2 separate regions of the Homo sapiens genome follow, and region 1 is linked to region 2. Evidence: promoter capture Hi-C in human tissues and cell types (Jung and others, 2019). All regions are on one chromosome and are shown on one strand. Each heading gives the region's core, a stretch centred on a gene start or on the middle of the fragment in contact. The rest is flanking DNA. Distances are from core to core; before and after follow the strand shown. Region 1 overlaps LOC101926935 (a long non-coding RNA gene). Region 2 holds the start of ZNF337 (zinc finger protein 337).

Region 1 (4,085 bases), core at 200-2,699, 150 kb after region 2:
TAAACTGCTGGGATTACAGGTGTGAGCCACCGCATCTGGCCCAAGTTTTTTTCTATAAAACCACATATTGCACTCAGGGTAGGGTAAATGATGCATCATGCCTGCTGGCAACATGGGCCCTATCTGGAAAGCGAGTGCCCACCACCATAGCACAGTTCCATGCAGTGCCTGTGTGGTGCTGAATCTCAGGAGCAGCCCCAATCCTGTGAACCACAACTACAGGGACCTTAGACATAAGCAAATACTTCTGGTGGCCAGGCCTGCCAGCAAGCAGATGCTAACCCTGTCCTGGGGGCCTGCAGAGAGGTCGGGCCAGTGCAGAGGTGGTGAGACCCATGTCTGGTCTCCCCAACTCCCACCCATGCTATGCAATGGGGGCGACCACGCACCCGATCTGCCTGGGAGGGTCCTAGTGTGCCCACTGCCTTGCTGAGTTATGAGGGATGCTGCCTCTCACATCTCACCGGTATCGCATTTGAAGGACAAATTATGTCTTCCCTTCCCCACCCTGTGGACCTCCGTTTCCTCATGTGCAAGTGGGGGATGATAGGCTTACATGGTTATGCAGTGGGGGTATCAATGGGATCCATCTGTCAATACCTTGCATCCAGTGACCACCTGGAGCACACCTGCAGTTCGCAAGTTAGGCTTCCTGCTGCAGTGAGGGGAGCAAGCACTGCCTGGAGCCAGGGAGCTTCTCTGAAGGAGGTGTTGGAAAGGACTTGTTCCAGAATTTGGGCTTGTATTGGGAGCTTGGGGGAAGGTTGAAAGAAGCCTTTGCTCCAGATTGGATGCTGTCAGAGGCAGGGTGGATTCTATCACCTGGCATCTTCCCCAATCTTACCTAGAAGGAAGGAAGACAAGACCAAAGCTAACGCTGCAATTGACAGAGGTAGTGGTCATGACATAGACACAGGGGAGGGGGTGTGAGGTCATTTTTGTCCATGTTTTGCATGAGCTGAGCCATGATAGCTACCAAGTGACCTTGCTTTGTCTTGACCCATCATGGTCACAGAGCGACCTTGTCTGATGCTGACAACCTGTGCAGTTCAACAGGAGAACACCAACGTCTTGCCAGCAGTGGCTGCTGTCCTCCTGAGGCCTCGCTTCTCCTCCTCTGGGGCCTACTGCTGACCGTGGGAGGTGTGGAGTGGGAAGGGAATATGCCGTGGGTTTTTTTTTTTTTTTTTTTTTTGCAGAACAAGGACAGGGGACTCTGATGCCTTCAGCTCTGGCCATCCTGAGTGCTGTGATCTGCTTCCCCTGCTTCCTACACCACCCACAATCCCACCACGCTGCTGCAGTCACTGCCAACTCATAGTGCCTTCTAAGGGCCCCAGTGTCTCTGGGACACCCCTCTCCCCTGGGAGGGAAGCCAGGTGCTCATGAATGTCCCAGGTGGAGGTGCTGAAAAAGTGTGGAGATGCCTTCTTGAGTGTCAAAGTCTGGGATTCCAGCTTTCAGCCTCAGGCTCCAGGTGTGTGTGCTGAAGTGGAATTTTCTTCTCTCGTTCACTCTCCTGTCTGGTCAGAGGAACTTGGGGAGTTTCCTCTCTAGGGGAGGGAAAGGCCCTGGAGAGGTGGCCTTGCCCTGAACTGGGAAGGGGTGGGCATGGGAAAGCAGGGGCCTGGGCTCTGCCTACTGCTTGCTGAGAGCTTGGACATAGCACTGCCCTCCCTCAGCTCCTGTCTCCTTTCTCTGTATGATTAGGTGGAGGTGGATGGGATTCTGCTTCTACTCCCAGTCCTTGGGCACCATGTCAGGTACTCACACACTTATGACCCCATCTGGTCTTTGGAATGGCACTGGGGGATGGATCTGTCAATCTCACGTTGCAAATGTTTGTTCTAAATCCCACACTCTGAAGTCAGAAAGACCTGGGTTAGCCCTCAGCCACTGACGGTTGCTTGCTATGTGACCTTGGACAAGTCACTGCCCTTCTCTGAGCCTCAACACCCACATTTACACAGGGGAAGAATAATACCTCCCTCTTGGGCTGCTGTGAAGCAGAGCTAATGCGTACATTGCCTCAGGCACATTGCAGGTGCTCAAAGTGTTGGTCTTTCCTTCCCTTTCTAGGTCTCCATTTCCTCATCTACACAGTAGGGAGCAACTCTGTCCTGATTATAAATAAGACAACAGGTGAATGCACTCAGCAAGCCTAGGGGCAAGGATGCGTAGAGAAGCTTCTTGCAAAGGTGAAGAATGTGTGCTCTGAGCCCCGTGCTGAGAGGCAGGTGAGAGGACAGCAAGCCCAGCGACTGAGGCCTACAAAATGCCCCCTGCAGAGAGGGAGGAGGAGCAGTGTTCTAAGGCGGGTGGGAGGCAGCATCCCCAGTGCTTGCAGGAGGAGCAGGACTGTTGTGCTTGCTCAGGTGGGTGGTAGGTTAGGTTCTTAGGTATCTGCTGGGTATCAGATGCTGCACAAGCATCATCTCCGTGAACTTAATCTTTCCATCATCCCTGAGAGGTGGGCATTACAGGGGCATAGTGGGATTGAAACACAGGTCCCCTGAGCCTGTGCCTTTTCTACAAGGCAATTTAGTTCACATGTAATAATAGGACCCAAAAATACACCTGCTATGCTGTGCTCACCTGATTTCATAACATCCTTGTGACCTGCCAGGTTGGTGAACTGTCATCATTTTATGGATGAGAAAACTGAGGCTCAGAGAGGGTGAATAATTTGCTCATCCTTCCAAAGAACTAAAAGGAAGAGAGGTGCTATAGCTGTGGGGCCTTCTATTCCTGGTAGGAAGTGTGCAGTACCCAAGGCCATTCTGACCCCAGTGCAGGCAGGAGAAAAGGCACATCAACAAATCCAGCAGCAAGCTTCCACTGAGGGCCTCCCTGGCCTTTCCTTGCACTAGTGCTGAGGGAGAAACAGCCTTGTTCCTTCACCTAACATGGCTTCTTGCTGCCCCCAGGATAAAGGTCAGAGTCCTCAAGTCTGTGTTTGAGACTCTTCATGGTCTGGTCCCACCTGCGTTTCCAGCGAAATCCTCCACCAGGGTCCCCAGTGCAGCAGCCCTGGCCACCTGTCCCATCCTACCATCCTGACTTGGCTCAAGCTGCTCCCTCTGTCCCATGGTCTTCACACATAGAACAAGGAGAAGCTTGATATAGGCTAACCTGAATTTTCCATTTGAGAGCATTTTCAGCTTCTGGAAACAGACATTTCACCCAAAATTCCAGATTCCCTGCTTCTCTGAAAATACATACATACATACATACATACATACATACATACATACATACATATATAAATCTGCTCTTACTCTGCACTATTCTGTTTTCTGAGACAGAGTTTCACTCTTGTTGCCCAGGCTGGAGTGCAGTGGTGTGATCTCCACTCCCCACAACCTCCGCCACCCAGTTTCAAGTAAGTCTCCTGCCTCAGACTCCTGAGTAGCTGGGATTTACAGGCATGCACCATCATAGCCAGCTAATTTTCATGTACTTTTTTTTAGTAGAGATGGAGTTTCATGATGTTGGTCAGGCTGGTCTCCAACTCTTGACCTCAGGTGATCTACCAGCCTCGGCCTCCGAAAGTACTGGGATTACAGGTGTCAGCCACCTCACTTGTCCAGTCTGCACTATTCCTTAGTGTCAGACAATTTGAGCCAAACAATGTCTTTCTCATTTGGACGTGACCTTCAGGGTCTAATTTTTGTATTTTCAGTATAGACCAGTTTTTTTTTTTTTTTTGACAGAGTTTCACTCTTGTCCCCCAGGCCAGATGGTGCAGTGGCATGATCTCAGCTCAATGCAACCTCCGCCTCCTGGGTTCAAGTGATTCTTCTGCCTCAACCTCCCGAGTAGCTGGGATTACAGTCACCTGACACCACACCCAGCTAATTTTTTGTATTTTTAGTAGAAACAGAGTTTCACCGTGTTGGGCAGACTGGTCTCAAACTCCTGACCTTAGGTGATCCACCCTCCTCAGCCTCCCAAAGTGTGGAATTACAGGCATGAGCCAGAGCCTGGCCTTACCTGGCTAATTCTTTGTATATTTGAAGAGACAGGGTTTCACTGTGTTGGCCAGGATGGTCTTGATCTCCTGACTTCGTGATCCGCTGGCCTCA
Region 2 (4,125 bases), core at 1,092-3,591:
AAAATCAGTTATTTGGATGGTCAGTCCACAGCCCCAGAGACATTTAAAAAAACTGCTGGGCCCAATGGTTGCTGTTACTCCCACTCCAATAACCGAGGAAGCCCTACCAACCTGGTGAGGACTAAATTCACCTTTTTTCCCTTGCCCAAATGCCTATGTATGAGGCTTGGGGAATCCTGCCCGAGAAACCATAAAATCTCATCAGATGAGTTTTATTACTCTTATATAATGAGGCTCACTTTCCAACCTGACTCTGGTACAGCATCACATGACAGCAGATGCTGAAGGAAATTATTTTACCCCAAAATATACTTCTTTGACATGTTTTGAAGTGGCTGCCACAGGGGCAACAGATTGAAATGGATAGCCCCGCAAAGCTATCTTTAGTGGGAAAATTTGCATCTGCAGCGAATCTCCATTAATGTAGCCAGACCTCCTTTGTTCTAAGCCTTTCTTAGGTCTGGAAGAGACAGCCAGCCTGACGCGCGGTGGCTCACGCCTGTAATCCCAGCACTTTGGGAGGTAGAGGTGGGTGGATCACCTGAGGTCAGGAAGTCAAGACCAGCCTCAGCAACATGGTGAAACCCCATCTCTACTAAAAATACAAAAATTAGCCAGGCGTGGTGGCGGGCGCCTGTAGTCCCAGCTACTCAGGAGGCTGAGGCAGGAGAACTGCTCAAACCTGGGAGGTGGAGGTTGCAGTGAGCTGAGATCACGCCACTGCACTCTAGCCTGGGCGACAGAGCAAGACTCTCTCTAAAAACAAAAACAAAAACACAAAAACCCAAAAAACTGAAAACAGACATTTACCATCTATTCTGAGAGTTGCCAACTAAGAGGCTTCATCTACATAATAAGAACTTTGATCTACGCAATCCCCTTAACTCTGGCATGCTTCTGATTCCAGTCTTCAGGCAGTAGCTTAAGTCTCTCAACCAACTGTCCACTAAAGAATCCCTAAGTGCCCCCATGAGGTGTAAACCCTTTGGAGATATACCAGCTTTTTGGGAGGAACCCGTGTATATCTTTCTCTTATTGATTTATGATTTTCTTTTTGGAGGCAGGATCTCGCTGTGTTACCCAGGCTAGCGTGCAGTGCAGCCAACATAGCTGGTTACAGCCTCCACCTCCTGGACTCAACTGACTGGGCCTCCCAAGTAGCTGAGGCCACAGGCATGGGACACCACGCCCCGCTAATTTTTTTATTTTTCTAATTTCATGTAGAGACAGGGTCTTGCTGTGCTGCCCAGGCTGCTCTGGAACTCCTGGCCTCCCAAAGTGCTGGGACTACAGGCATGAGCCACACTGCTCAGCCTGATTTATGACTTTACCTGAAATTCCTGTCTCCCTGAATTGTATAAAATTAACCTGCAAGCCTGACCATCTCGGGCACTTTCACAGGACCTCTTGAGGCTGAATAACCTGGGCCACAGTCACTCATACTGACTAGGAATAAACCTTTTTAAATATATTTTGGCAGAACCCGGATTTTGCCGTCATTAGCAAGGCCCCAGGGAAGAGGCCACCTGGGTCCCCACAGCCACCTCACCTCCCGCGGACGCTGCCCCACGCAGATCCCCCCCCCCCCCCACCAAAACACGTCTAGACGTGCCCGTGCGAGGACATTTGGTCCCGGCCTACACTCCTATCCGCGGAAGATCGTCCCAAGGCGGGGTGCTCCCAACCCAAAGCAGCGGCCCTTCCCCAAAACACGCGGGCGAAGTCCTCCCCTGTCCCGCCTCCCACAATAAAGTCTGGAGCATCAGAGTCGGAGGGAACCCGAGTCGGACCTAGCCCATCCGTCTCATGGCTGTAACCCCCACCCCACCAGTGGACCCTGGCTGTGGCCGAGTCCCCCTCCACCTCCGGCCAAAAGACCCCCGTGGCAGCTCGCTAGGCCGCTGGCCCGTCCCCACCCGAGGAGCGGCGACCCTGGCACAAGAGGACCTGGGTTGCTCGGCGCCCCTGTGAAATCCGGGCTGTTCACCGCCCGAGCCGCCACTACACGCAACCGGGAACGGAGACTGAGTGGCGGCCCAGACCCGGGGCGCTCGGCAAGCCGCAGCCCCACCGCCCACTTCAAGGCGCGGCCTGGGTCTCCGCCCCTCCCCAGAACGCGGAGACGCCGGGCCTGGAGGAGCGCGCGCTACGGCCCCAGCAGCGCCCTCACGTCCCAGGCCTTCCCGGCCCTTCTTCCTGCGCCGGAAGGGCGCGCTGCAGAGAGGGACCCGCAGGAGCGCAGCTCACCGGGGCGGCTGAGGGCGAACCGAGGCGGTGAGGTCACCGATGGTGGACCACGCATCTCACGGCTCGCTGACGCCCAGGGATCTGGAACGCTCTGCGCCGCCCGGGACTACACTACCCAGAATCCTCAGCGCGGCCGGGACTACGCTACCCAGCATCCTCGGCGCGGCCCGGAGGCTATGCGACCCTGCGCGTCGCATCCCCTCGGTGGACTACACTCCCCAGAGTCCTCGGGAGTCGTCCAGGTACACGCCCCAGAATATTGGTCATAGCGGTCCACCCGGGACTGCGCGACCCGGAATCCTTGGAAGGACTTCTCGGAAGGACTCCTCTCTGACAGGTGGGGCGAGCCTATGGTCGTTTGGACGTGGAGGGATCCTTTCAGAACCGGCGATTTCTTTTATTTAGGTAGCCCTATACATACATTAAGCATATTTTCCCATTTCTATGATATAGGTAAATAATTTTCCCACTGTCTTTTGATTATGGGTATGTCTTTTTTTTTTCTTTTGTTTCTTTTTTTTGCTATGTAGTACTTTTGATCTCTGATTTTCCTACGGATTTTGTGGTTTTATCATTCACATTTAGATCTCTCAATGGTTTAATTTTTCTCCAGGTACACACTGTAAATATACAATTATTTTTAAAATTTTCTAATATTTTATTAATTTCCCATTAAATTTATTAAAAATATAGTCTTTTACCAAATAATTTAAGGTTTCAGCTACATAATTCAGTATACTCAATTTACATTTGCATTTCAATTTCTAATTGTTCCCCCATTTATCTAATTATGCATCAATGCCAGAATTCTTTCATTATGTAGGGTGTATAATATGCTGATATCTTTTGTGGCTTGCCAAACCACGTAGACTTTATATTTCAGGCCTTTACTAGGTATACTTGCTGTTTGCTTTTTCTCTTTTGGTTTTTAAATTTTTAATTATTCTGGATAAATATTAGTTGTACATATTTATAGGGTACATGTTATGTTTTGATACAGGCATACAGTGTTTAATGGTCAAATGAGGGTGATTGGGGTATCCATCCCCTCAAGCATTTAGCATTTCTTTGTTTTAGGAAGTTTCCAATTCTCTCTTATTTTTAAATATATAGTAAAATTGTTCTTAACTATAGTCACTGTATAGTGCTACCAACTACTAGATCTTATTCATTCTAACTGTATTTTTGTATCGATTAACAAGTCCCTCTTTATCTCCTCTACCCACCATCCTTCCCAGCCTCTGTTAACTATCTCATTCTACTCTCCATCTCCATGAGTTCACGTTTTTAGCCCCACAAATGAGTGAGCACATGTGATATTTGTCATGCTGTGCCTCATTTCGCTTAACATAATGTCCTCCATTTTCATACATGCTATTGAAAATGACAGAATTTCATTCTTTTAATGACTGGCTAATATCCCATTGTGTTAATGTACCACACTTTCCTTATCCATTCATCTGTTGATAGACACTTTGATTCTATATCTTTACTATTTTGGATAGTGCTGTAGTAAACATGAGAGTGCAGATATATCCTTGAAATACTGATTTCCTTTCTTTTGGATATATACTCAGCAGTGGGATTGCGGGATCATGTATATATTTATTAATTCTTTTGAGGAACCTCCATACTGCTCTCCATAGTGGTTGTACTAATTTACATTCCTAACAACAGTGTATGAGGGTGTATCCACACCCTCACCAGTATTCACTATTGCCTGTCTCTTGAATAAAAGCTATCTTGACTGGGGTGACATTATATCTCATTGCGGTTTTGATTTACATTTCTCTGATGATTAGTGGCATTGAGCATTTTTTTTCATACACTTGTTGGCCGTTCATATATCTTATTTTGAGAGATGCCTATTCAGATCTT

What was found. Contacts are between HindIII fragments. The study calls those that stand out against the background at their distance.
Region 1: a fragment that was not itself captured here is called in contact with the fragment with the promoter of ZNF337 in region 2 in 2 of the 25 tissues and cell types used here (H1 embryonic stem cells and dorsolateral prefrontal cortex).

Annotation. Positions count from the first base shown.
Region 1 is chr20:25,848,105-25,852,189 of GRCh38, forward strand. It overlaps LOC101926935 (a long non-coding RNA gene), which reads right to left. Exons shown (of 3, transcript NR_110001.1): 1 at 3,994-4,085; 2 at 3,133-3,208; 3 at 1-844. Among named protein-coding and RNA genes, the nearest start is that of FAM182B, 54 kb to the left of the region's middle. RefSeq lists enhancers at 1-372, 1,834-2,358. The HindIII fragment of the contact is 3,050 bases long and covers 1-2,974 here.
Region 2 is chr20:25,694,512-25,698,636 of GRCh38, forward strand. It overlaps ZNF337 (zinc finger protein 337), which reads right to left and starts at 2,342. Exons shown (of 5, transcript NM_015655.4): 1 at 2,248-2,342. LOC107985400 (a long non-coding RNA gene) reads left to right here and starts at 2,530. Exons shown (of 2, transcript XR_007067557.1): 1 at 2,530-2,652. RefSeq lists an enhancer at 1,746-1,855. The HindIII fragment of the contact is 16,641 bases long and covers 1-4,125 here.